Linked DNA regions of Homo sapiens: all the other regions are linked to region 2. The links are contacts of gene promoters, found by promoter capture Hi-C in human tissues and cell types (Jung and others, 2019). All regions are on one chromosome and are shown on one strand. The core of a region is centred on a gene start or on the middle of the fragment in contact, and the rest is flanking DNA. Distances in the headings are between cores, read along the strand shown. Region 1 has its middle 38 kb from the start of RSPO2. Region 2 holds the start of RSPO2 (R-spondin 2). Region 3 overlaps RSPO2 (R-spondin 2). Region 4 has its middle 55 kb from the start of RSPO2.

Region 1 (2,700 bases), core at 20-2,519, 39 kb before region 2:
TCCCAGTGAGATCAACGCAGAAGGTGGGTGATTTTGCATTTCCACTGAGGTACCAGGCTTATCTCATTGGGACTGGTTAAACAGTGGGTGCAGCTCATGGAGGGAGAGCTGAAGCAGGGTGGGGCGTTGTTTCTCCTGGGAAGTGCAAGGGTTCAGGGAACTCCCTCCCCTAGCCAAGGGAAGCTGTGAAGGACTGTGCCATGAGGAACTGTGCATTCCACCCCAGTTCCTACACTTTTCCCAAGGTCTTCTCAACCCGCAGACCAGGAGATTCCCTTGGGTGCCTGTACCACCAGGGCCCTGGGTTTCAAGCACAAAACTGGGCGGCCATTTGGGCAGACACCGAGCTAGCTGCAGGAGTTTTTCTTCATACCCCAGTGGCTCCTGGAACACCAGCAAGATAGAACCATTCACTCCCCTACAAGGGGGGCTGAAGCCAGGGAGCCAAGTGGTGTAGCCCAGCGGATCCCACTGCCACAGAGCCCAGCAAGCTAAGATTGATTGGGTTGAAATTCTCACTGCCAGCACAGCAGTCTGAAGTTGACCTGGGACACTCGAGCTTGGTGGGGAGAGGGGAGTCCACCATCATTGAGGGTTTAGTAGGCGGTTTTCCCCTCATAGTGTAAACAAAGCTGCCTGGAAGTTCGAACTGAGTCAAGCCCACTGCAGCTCTGCAAAGCCACAGTAGCCAGACTGCCTCTCTAGATTCCTCCTCTCGGGGCAGGGCATCTCTGAAAGAAAGGCAGCTGCCCCAGTCAGGAGTTTATAGATAAAACTCCCATCTCCCTGGGACAGAGCACCTGGGGGAAGGGGCAGCTGTGGTTGCAGCTTCAGCAGACTTAAATATTCCTGCCTGCTGGCTCTGAGGACAGCAGTGGATCTCCCAGCACAGTTCTCGAGCTCTGCTAAGGGACAGACTGCCTCCTCAATTGGTCTCTGACCCCTGTGCCTCCTGACTAGGAGACACTCCCAGCTGGGGTCGACAGACACTTCATACAGGAGAGCTCTGGCTGGGATATGGCAGGTGCCCCTCTGGAATGAAGCTTCCAGAGGAAGGAACAGGCAGCAATCTTTGCTGTTCTGCAGCCACTGCGGGTGAGGCAAACAGCGTCTGGAGTGGACCTCCAGCAAATTCCACCAGACCTGCAGCAGAGGGGCCTGACTGTTAGAAGGAAAACTAACAAACAGAAAGGAATAGCATCAACATCAACAAAAAGGATGTCCACACAGAAACCGCATTCGAAGGTCACCAACATCAAAGACCAAAGGTAGATAAATCCATGAAGGTGTGGAAAACCAGCACAAAAAGGTTGAAAATTCCAAAAACCAGAATGCCTCTTCTCCTCCAAAGGATCACAACTCCTCGCCAGCAAGGGAACAAAACTGGATGGAGAATGAGTTTGACGAATTGACATAAGTAGGCGTCAGAAGGTGGGTAATAACAAACCCTTCTGAGCTAAAGGAGCATATTCTTACCCAATGCAAGGAAACTAAGAACCTGGAAAAAAGGATAGAGGAATTGCTAACTAGAATATCCAGTTTAGAGAAGAACATAAATGACGTGATGGAGCTGAAAAACACAGCATGAGAACTTTGTGATGCATATACAAGTATCAATAGCTGAACTGATCAAGTGGAAGAAAGGATATCAGAGGTTGAAGATCAACTTAATGAAATAAAGCATGAAGACACGATTAGAGAAAAAATCATGAAAAGGAAAGAACAAAGCCTCCAAGAAATATAGGACTATGTGAAAAGACCAAACCTAGTTTGAGTGGTGTACCTGAAAGTGATGGGGACAAACGAACCAAGTTGGAAAACACTCTTTAGGATGTTATACAGGAGAACTCCAACCTAGCAAAACAGGCCAACATTCAAATTCAGGAAATACAGAGAACACCACAAAGATATTCCTCAAGAAAAGCAACCTCAAGACACATATTCATCAGATTCACCAAGGTTGAAATGAAGGAAAAAATGTTAAGGGCAACCAGAGAGAAAGGTCAGGTTACCCACAAAGGGAAGCCCATCAGACTAACAGCAGGTCTCTCTGTGGAAATCCTACAAGCCAGAAGAGAGTGGGGGCCAATATTCAACATTCTTAAAGAAAAGAATATTCAACCCAGAATTTCATATCTAGCCAAACTAAGCTTCATAAATGAAGGAGAAATAAAATCCTTTACAGACAAGCAAATGCTGAGAGACTTTTACCACCACCAGGCCTGCCTTACAAGAGCTCCTGAAGGAAGCACTAAATATGGGATTGAAAACCAGTACCAGCCACTGCAAAAGCATACCAAATTGTAAAGACTATTGACACTATGAAGAAACTGCCTGGTCTACATTTCTTTCTTCTACCCATTTAAAATATTTAATATTAACTCTTCAGTAAGTTTTTCTAAAGCCACAAAAAAAATTCATCTTCATCAAGCAGTTTCTTTTCTGCCTTCTTCTCAGCAAAATTATCTGAGCCAAGGAAATAGTAAGGCCCTGGCTATCTGCTTGAAATGGGGAAGGGAAAATATAAGAAATAAAAATGTATTATTAGTTGGGTGGAAAATCCTTCCACAAATTAAAGGCTGATAGACTGACTCTGAGATGTAAACATTTATAAAAGTGAAGGGCAAGTCTGAATGTCTTGACTCAGGAGGCCAGACAACTCTAAGCAATACAAAATAGGAAATAAATACTGGCATCTGA
Region 2 (2,826 bases), core at 167-2,666:
TGACTATATTTGGAAAGAAGTAGTATTTATGGTGCTGAAGAGATATTCAGCATCATATCAAGATGATCAAGAAATATCAAGTTATGCCAAACACTGGGGCCACTCCCTACACTGAAATGTTTCCAAATTCTGTGATAAAAATCAAAGGCTCAAAAGTCAAGAAACAGATCCACTGTTTCTGCAATGTGTTTTGTGAACTCTATTTGTGCCCTGTGGGCCAGTCTCAGTGATGGATTTTCTTATCTATGAAATGGGACCAATGACCTCAACTCAGATTTACTTGGGTGTTCTCAGGCATGCATCAAAGGCATACTGCTGAAATTCTTAGCACATAAATACCACTATGTAATAGTGAGTCTGTAAAATAGTTATGAATAGGCAATAATGGAATAGTTAATAAATATGAGTATTGCAATATTCTTTTTATATGATTGTCTTTTAAGTCATCAAATTTCTGAACATCTTCTGAAACTGAAGGAATAGAAAAGGGAATTTAAATAGTATAAAATGCTATCATAATAATATGGTAACTGCGGGCATATCTATAGACATTCATACTGCCACGGTTAGTGGCATAAATTCTTATCTTTTGCTTAAGGAATAAATACATTTTTTCCTACAGTAGTGAATGCAGGACAGATTTCACCAGAATGAAATTGGATGGCATCAAGTCTATTTAATGTAACACTTTGTTAAACAGAATATTTTCCCCAAACCCAAAGCACCTAAAAGTTTAATTCAGGAGACTTTGGAAATGAGAGGAGGATTAAGAATGAAAAATACTTTAGTGGGAAGTGAACTTTTTAAAATTATTTTTAAAGAATCAAGGCCCCAACTTCTTCAGCACTTCAGGCAACGGATCACAGGTTTTTGTTTTATTGGAGAAGAAACAAAGTAAATAACAGTTCTGAGGATGAACAAAAGCTGTTGGGAATACCCATTTCACTCCTCAAAGTGGGGGCGCGTTTTATGAATAATTTCAGCCGGCTAACATACCTTCCTGCAAAACACAGACAAGATGTAAATTAAAAAGTGGCAGAGTTGTGGCATATTGCAAAAGTTTAAAGGGAGTCATCAGTCCTTCAGTCAGATCTCCCTGCAGAAAGGTTGGCGCTGAGGTTGGAACTGACCCTAGAGGGCTGGAGAGGACCCCTTGGGGGTGAGCAGCCGGGTTCTGGGACCCAGCAAGGTCAGGGGGCGTCTCCCCAGCTACTCTTTATCTATCCCCCGCACTCTGGAAAGCCCGAAGAGGATTCGCTCCAAGTTAGGCGCGCTGTTGGCTGTCAACGTTCTTTAGGACCTCAGGGAAACCGGGACGTTTCTGGCTTTAGGACCCAGGAACTCCGAGGCAGCCTAGACTTAGATGCCTTGGACCACAGCACCACCTACTTATAGAAGCATCCCAAGCCTCAGCCGGTCTGCATCTCCATCGGAAAGTGCGCTTGCCACATCCCTTCGGATCACTTCGTCCTCCCGAGAGCGTTCTGCCTTCTACAGCTCGGAAAGAAAGAAATCTTAGCTGTGAAGTGACCGTGGAGAAAGCGCAGGAAGCGACACAATTGGTTAGGGAGGCAGAGAGTGTGAGCGGGCGCACCCCTTGCCTGGGGACCGCGCTCGCGGGCGGGGACGGAGCATCCCAGTGGCTGCACCCGCCGCTCCGCGCTCCTGCCTGGCGTCGCCAACCCCGCGGCGGCCGCTGGAATTCCAGAGCTGCCAGGCGCTCCCAGCCGGTCTCGGCAAACTTTTCCCCAGCCCACGTGCTAACCAAGCGGCTCGCTTCCCGAGCCCGGGATGGAGCACCGCGCCTAGGGAGGCCGCGCCGCCCGAGACGTGCGCACGGTAGGCAACCCACACCAAGGCAGCCGCAGCTGCGGCGCTTGGGTACACCGCCGTGGACTCCAAATGGCCTAAGAGCGTTCTTTTAGCCCTGCGCTCTCAGTGCCTTTAGAGTTCTTTCCTTTCCCCGGAGCGCCGGCACAACGCATTATGCCGCTGGGTCGGAGCTTAGGGCTCGGCAGAGGTTGCTAATTCACTGATTATAATCACCTTCCTCTCCAACTCGTCCGCAGCTGCCCGCTCTGGATTAAGCCGCTCCGCGGCTCGTGCTAGGCAGTGGGTTCGCTTCCTCCTTCCCTCTCTTCTTTAAATTGGGACGTGCGAAGGCGCAGCTGCCTCCCCGGGGCTCTCTCCATCCCCCACACACCCTGTTTTCGCTTCTTGTCTCTCAGGTTCGTGGCGGAGAGATGCTGATCGCGCTGAACTGACCGGTGCGGCCCGGGGGTGAGTGGCGAGTCTCCCTCTGAGTCCTCCCCAGCAGCGCGGCCGGCGCCGGCTCTTTGGGCGAACCCTCCAGTTCCTAGACTTTGAGAGGCGTCTCTCCCCCGCCCGACCGCCCAGATGCAGTTTCGCCTTTTCTCCTTTGCCCTCATCATTCTGAACTGCATGGATTACAGCCACTGCCAAGGCAACCGATGGAGACGCAGTAAGCGAGGTGGGTCCCTCTCTGCCAAAGGTGCGTGGTGGGCTTCAGGGGTGGCGTGTGGAGGCGCTCACTCACGCCCTGGCTCCGGGGGCTCAGATGGTCAGGGCTGTGCTCTCCACCCCAGCTTTTGCGGGTCCCCAGTCCCCACCTTTAGGACCCTGGAGCTCTACAAAACACTCTGTTTTCTGTACCCTGGAGGCGCGGGGAGCCGGAGCGAGACGCGCTGGGAGCTCGGCGAGCCGGGCGCCAATCGGGCGCTCAGGGCTAAGTCGTGCGGTCCGCACTCATGTTCGCCGCCCCACCTCCTCATCTAAACTTGTCTCTTTAGGACGTATTTCTTATCT
Region 3 (2,810 bases), core at 275-2,774, 47 kb after region 2:
GAGTAGATTCCATCTCAAGAAACACTTTCTTTGCTTATCCATAAGAAGCAACTCCTCATCCATTCAAGTTTTATCATGAAATTGTAGCAATTCAGTCACATCTTCAGGCTTCACTTCTCCATCTAGTTCTCTTGCCATTTCTACCATGTCTGCAATTACTCACTCCACTGAAGTTTTGAACCCCTGAAGTTATACATGAGGGCTGGAATCTACTTAACTCCTGATAATGTTGATATTTTGACCTTCTCCCATGAATCACTAATGTTTTTAATGGCGTCTAGAAGGGTGAACCCTTTCCTGGAGGTTTTCAATTTACTTTTCCCAGATTCATTAGAGGAATCACTATATATGGCAGCTGTAGCCTTATGAAATATTTATTAAATAATAAGACTTGAAAGTTGAAATTACTCCTTGATCCACTGGCTACATAATGGATCTTGTGTTAGCAGGCATGAAAACATTAATCTCCTTGTACATCTCCATCAGAGCTCTTGGTTGACCCAGGTGCATTGTCAATGAGTAGTAGGTCTCAACAGCGGGCTTAAAACCTTCAGTAAACCATGCTGTAAACAGGTGTGCTGTCATGGAGGTTTTGTTATTCCACTTATAGAGCACAGGCAGAGTAGAGCTAGTATAATTTTTAAGGGCCATAAGATTTTCAAGGTGTAAATGAGCATTGGCCTCCACTTCAAATCACTGGCTGCATTAGCCCCTAACAAGAGAGTCAGCCTGTTCTTTGAAGTTAGACATTCACATCTCTCTAGCTATGAAAATCCTGGGTGGCATCTTCTCCCAGTAGCAGGCTTTTTAATCTACATTTAAAAATCTGTTTTTTAGTGTAGCCACCTTCATTTCTTCATTAAATCTTCTAGACAACTTGCTGTAGCTTCTACATCAATACTTACTGTTTCACTTTGCACTTTCATGTTATGGAGATGACTTCTTTCCTTAAACCTCATGAACCAACCTCTGCTAGCTTCAAATTTAACTTCTGCAGCTTCCTCATCTCTCTCAGTCTTTGTAGAGTTAAAGAGAGTTAGGATCTTGCTCTGGATTAGGCTTTGGCTTAAAGGAATGTTCTGGCTGGTTTATTCTTCTATCCAGACTTCTAAAACTTTCTCCACATCGGTAATATGGCTGTTTCACCTATCTGTGTTTTCACTAGAATAGCACTTTTAATGTTCTTCAAGAACTTTTCCTTTGCATTCACAACTTGAGGGGCCTAGCTTTTGACCTATCTTGGCTTTTAACATGCCCTGCTCACTAAGCTTAATCACGTCTAGTTTTTTATTTAAAGTGAGAGATATAGGACTCCTCCTCTTGAATACTTAGAGGCCACTGTAGGGTTACTAATTGTCTTAATTTCAATATTGTTGTACCACAGGGCATAGGGAGGCCTGAGGAGAGAGTGAGAGAGATGGCAACAGTTAGTGGAGCAGTCAGAACACACAACATTGATTGGTCAAGTTTGCCATCTTATGTGGGTGCAGTTTTTGGTGCCCCAAAACAATTACAAAAGTAACATCAAAGATCACTGAACACAGATCACCATAACAGATTAATAATAATGAAAAATTTTAAATATTGCAAGCATTACCAAAATGTGACAGAAGAAGGGAGCTCATGCTGTTGGAAGAATGGTGCCAATAGACTTGACGTAAGGTTGCCAGAAACCTTCAATATATAAAACAACAACCTTCCTCCCACCTCACCCCCAGCAAGAATTCTGCAATATCTGTGAAGCACAATAAAGTGAAATGCAAGAAAATGAGATATTTTTGTAACACGTGGTCTTTGTTTTGGGAATGTTCAAACTTGTGGGACAAATGGGTAAAGGTATAGCTACAGCCTAACATTGAAAAGCGCCATGGCCACAGGCATCACACAGGTCTTTATGATGTGCCACAGGCTTCCTTGCCTGAATGACAGTTCAGGTCTTGACAGAAATGGTTGTCATAGGTGCAGAAACTTGAAAGATGGTCAGTTTTGCAGAGGGGGCAGAGAGGATCTTTTGCTATATATGTTAGCATATTTTCAGTAAACCATGCTGTAAACAGATGTGCTGTTATCCAGGCTTTGCTGCTCCATTTATAGCACACAGGCGGAATAGATTTAGCATAATTCTTAAGGGATCTAGGATTTTTGGAATGGTAAATAAGCATTGGTTTCATTTAAAGTCACCAGCTGCATTCCTAATGAGGGTCAGCCTGAAGTGGGGTGTTTTTTAGGTTTTGGGTTTTATTTGCTTAATATCTCTAAGGATAGCAAATCACCTGTATTAGTTTACCTGGCATGAAGGAAATGCCCATTGCTAATTCTACCAAATTTTCAAAAAAATACTTTGGATTTTAGAACAAACTGAAAAGTTGCTGTCTAATACTTGGAGGACAGTATGCCTAGATTCATAAGATGCCTCTGGGTCTCTATCTTTGTAATATATTTACCAAAATCATGAAAAATGTTTTTATTAGCCAGCATATAGATAGACTTGGTGGTTCCCAAACCTGAAAATGGTGAAAGTAACCCAGGGAGCATTTGGTGACTCAAGAGCCCAGTTCCCAATCCAGCGAAACTGAAACAGTCTCTTCTGGGGCAATCTCAGATTCTATGTCTAGGAATCAAAAATTTAAGAACTGGTGAGGAATTGCCTGTAATCCCAGCACTTTGGGAGGCCGAGGCAGGCAGATCATGAGGTCAGGAGATCGAAACCATCCTGGCTAACACGGTGAAACCCCATCTCTACTAAAAATACAAAAAAATTAGCCGGGCATGGTGGCGGGTGCCTGTAGTCCCAGCTACTCGGGAGGCTG
Region 4 (2,908 bases), core at 80-2,579, 55 kb before region 2:
GGAGAAGGAGACTTGAAATGGGAATCTTTCAGGTGGCAGAGCATATTTGTTTGTTTTTAGTGAAACTGACTTTATTCAATATATTTCTTCTTATTCCTGGGTACAGTGAAATGCAGAGCAAGTGAAAGAGCAGAGAAATGGGAGAGGTGAGAAGGGGATGATGGGGTAGGTTCTCAACTCACTTCTTGCTTTCATGCCTGGAACATTTCTCTAAGCCAGAACTTTCTGAACAAAGTGGATTTCAGGTGTGCCAAAATACTGATCTTTCAGCTCACAGGTCAGGGTCAAAAAGAGCCTCGAGGTGCCTTTTCTATGTAGCCCAAGTCACCTTCAAATGTAATGCTTTTCTATGTATACCAAGATGTACAATTTTTGGAGGCAATAAAAAATACTGTCTTAGAATCCAGGAGTCCCAAATTTTGGGGTAAAAACTTCTAGTTTTCTAGGATGTATGTGCATATGTGTATCTACATATATATGTGTGTATGTAGTTGTGTGTATAGAGAGAGTTAATCTAGCCTAGCAGTTAATAGTATTTACTTTGGATTCCTGCAGATTTTGTTTGAGACTCAGTTTTACCACTTTCTCACTATGTGACCTTGAGCAGTTGACTTAGCCCCTCTGAACCTTAGTTTCCTGGGGGATAAATAGCCACTTTTCATATTCATGACCTTGGGCAAGTCACTTAACTCTTTGTTCTTCAGTTTCTATTCTGTAAAATAGGATAATAGTACCAACTTCATAGTTTTGCAGTAAGGATTAATATGTTAATTCATATATTGACATATAAGTTAACCTGTCTGTCTGTTGATCACTTAGAACATTGCTGGTTCATGGTAAACTATAAAAGTGTGAATTATCATCACCATCCTGTAAAGTGTTGTGCACAGGGTCATATACATGATAGCTATCATCACAGGCATCATTATTATTTTTATAGTTAGCTGTGGGGAAGAGAAGTGTTTTTGTCACCACCACGGAAAACCAAAATGTGTGGAGCTCTGACAATGTGGTAGTAACTGCTGAGAACACAGGAGATAAGACTCTCATCTGCATGAGTCTAAAACACACAATCTAGACCACCCAGCAGCACAGGGGATGAGCTCCCTGTGGACTTCTTATTTGATCAGGAGTTTCTCCTCTTCACCCCTTTCTTCTCAGCCTCCCTTCATCATATTCCTGTTTTTGTTAATGCACTTATCCACCACTTCTGCCAAAAAGAAAAATGGGAATATTTGTGTTCTTTGGAGATTCTGCCAAGGAAGCCGTGGCCCTGGGGCTTCCTGGTGTCCCTGTAGCTTCTCTCCACGCTGGCAGCTGAAGGAAGCCATACTCACGGGGAGGCGTGTGAAGAGTCATCAAATGCTAAGCCTGGATGAAGCGTTATTAGAAACAGAGGAATTACTAACGAGTTGAGTTTTCTGACAGGAAAATAAAGCAATCAAGATCGGTCTAGGTGGGTACCCTGTGGATCCAGGGGCCCTGGGGTAGATATATGGTGGTGGAGGGTGTGGCAAGATGCCCGTCTATGGGCTTCTCTTTGCTATTCATCAACCCATAGAAAAGATCCATTTGCCCCATTTCTAGGAATAGAGCGAAGCCACTCCCAAGAGAGGAATAAAGTAGGAATCACCTCCCCACTTTCCCTTCCTTTCCCCTTATGCAATAGCGTGACTGGCAAATAGCTTGGAAGGAGGACACAAGTCAAAGCTTGAACCCTCCATCCAGAGGCCATTCCAAAGCTCCCATTACAGCAGCCTTGCACAGGAGGCAGGGATGGCTAAGTTGGAGTCAGATAGACCTTAGTTGAAATTCCAGCTCTTCTTTTTTTTGCAACTAAATGACCATGCTCAATCTATTAACCTTCCTGCTTCTTGAGGCCCTCATCTGAGAGATGGAGTTAAAAGGATTGAATACATGGTATTGTGCCTGAGTTAATAGATGGGGAAAACTTGCCACAGCGGGGCATGGCAGGTGCTTGGTCAATGGTAGCTATTTTTATTCTACTCTTGTTATTATAAACGTTAAAGTCACATGCATACTACTATTCAGTGGGTCCCACTGCCACTGCTAATACTAAATCATTCCTTTTTCGCTCATATCTGTTGGCAGCAACCTGCTGACCTTTCTTGACTCCACTCACTCTTGAATGCTGCAAACAATTTCACTTCTAACCTAGATTTTACTTGTAACCAAGTGCTCACTTTTTTACATATACGTTCCCTGAACTCTGTGCTCTCTTTGAGCCACCCTCCCTAATCAGGAGTAAAGGTGGCAGAGAAATCACAGTCTCAGATCCTTGTCACCCAGACACCCCAGATCCTGCCAAAGTCTTGTTCTGTCACATCCAATCTGACTGAGGAATCTTATAAACTGCAGATACATTCATTGGCCACTTGCTTGGGGCAGGAAAGGAGAACTGATCCCTCCACATTGAATGATCTCTGGGAGGGAAGGTGAAATGGAGGCTAGGTTACACAACAGGAAAAATGCAAGAAATCTTGCCATCGATGCTCCTATTGGCAGTTTATTTTGGTTTCTGGTTTTGAAACTGCTGTGTGAAGTCAGCTACTGGAAGTTTTTGTTGCTGTTTTCTGATGCAGGAGGATTATAAATCCAACCAAGTTTCCCTCAAACTTCTTCTCTGGGATTATTTCAAAGAAAAAAAAAGAGAGAGAGAAAATGTTGCTTGTACCTTCTCCCTCTGAAGCTATGGTAGCTTCCCCAACGATCATTCTGGAGAGAGTTCTGACTCAAGATTCCATAAGAAAACCCAAATGAAGATATAAAAATAATCTTCTGTGGGCCAACAGAAGGAATGACATAGATGCTACAAACTGAATGCTGACTCAAAGGAATTGAAGCTTTGGTTTGAGCAGTACCTCTTTGACGATTATAGACACAGGAT

What was found. The method cuts DNA at HindIII sites, captures the fragments that hold promoters and counts their contacts. A contact is called where the count stands out against the background at its distance.
Region 1: a fragment that was not itself captured here is called in contact with the fragment with the promoter of RSPO2 in region 2 in 1 of the 25 tissues and cell types used here (pancreas).
Region 3: a contact is called between a fragment that was not itself captured here and the fragment with the promoter of RSPO2 in region 2, in 4 of the 25 tissues and cell types used here (bladder, neural progenitor cells, psoas muscle and 1 more).
Region 4: a contact is called between a fragment that was not itself captured here and the fragment with the promoter of RSPO2 in region 2, in 3 of the 25 tissues and cell types used here (H1 embryonic stem cells, heart left ventricle and spleen).

Annotation. Positions count from the first base shown.
Region 1 is chr8:108,120,743-108,123,442 of GRCh38, reverse strand. No RefSeq gene overlaps it. Among named protein-coding and RNA genes, the nearest start is that of RSPO2, 38 kb to the right of the region's middle. The HindIII fragment of the contact is 3,236 bases long and covers 1-2,700 here.
Region 2 is chr8:108,082,210-108,085,035 of GRCh38, reverse strand. RSPO2 (R-spondin 2) reads left to right here and starts at 1,416. Exons shown (of 6, transcript NM_178565.5): 1 at 1,416-1,839; 2 at 2,229-2,491. The coding sequence starts at 2,398. RefSeq lists a silencer at 2,385-2,560 and an enhancer at 2,277-2,826. The HindIII fragment of the contact is 6,606 bases long and covers 1-2,826 here.
Region 3 is chr8:108,035,587-108,038,396 of GRCh38, reverse strand. The region is part of intron 2 of RSPO2 (R-spondin 2); the gene reads left to right. Among named protein-coding and RNA genes, the nearest start is that of RSPO2, 47 kb to the left of the region's middle. The HindIII fragment of the contact is 7,457 bases long and covers 1-2,810 here.
Region 4 is chr8:108,136,702-108,139,609 of GRCh38, reverse strand. No RefSeq gene overlaps it. Among named protein-coding and RNA genes, the nearest start is that of RSPO2, 55 kb to the right of the region's middle. The HindIII fragment of the contact is 3,964 bases long and covers 1-2,908 here.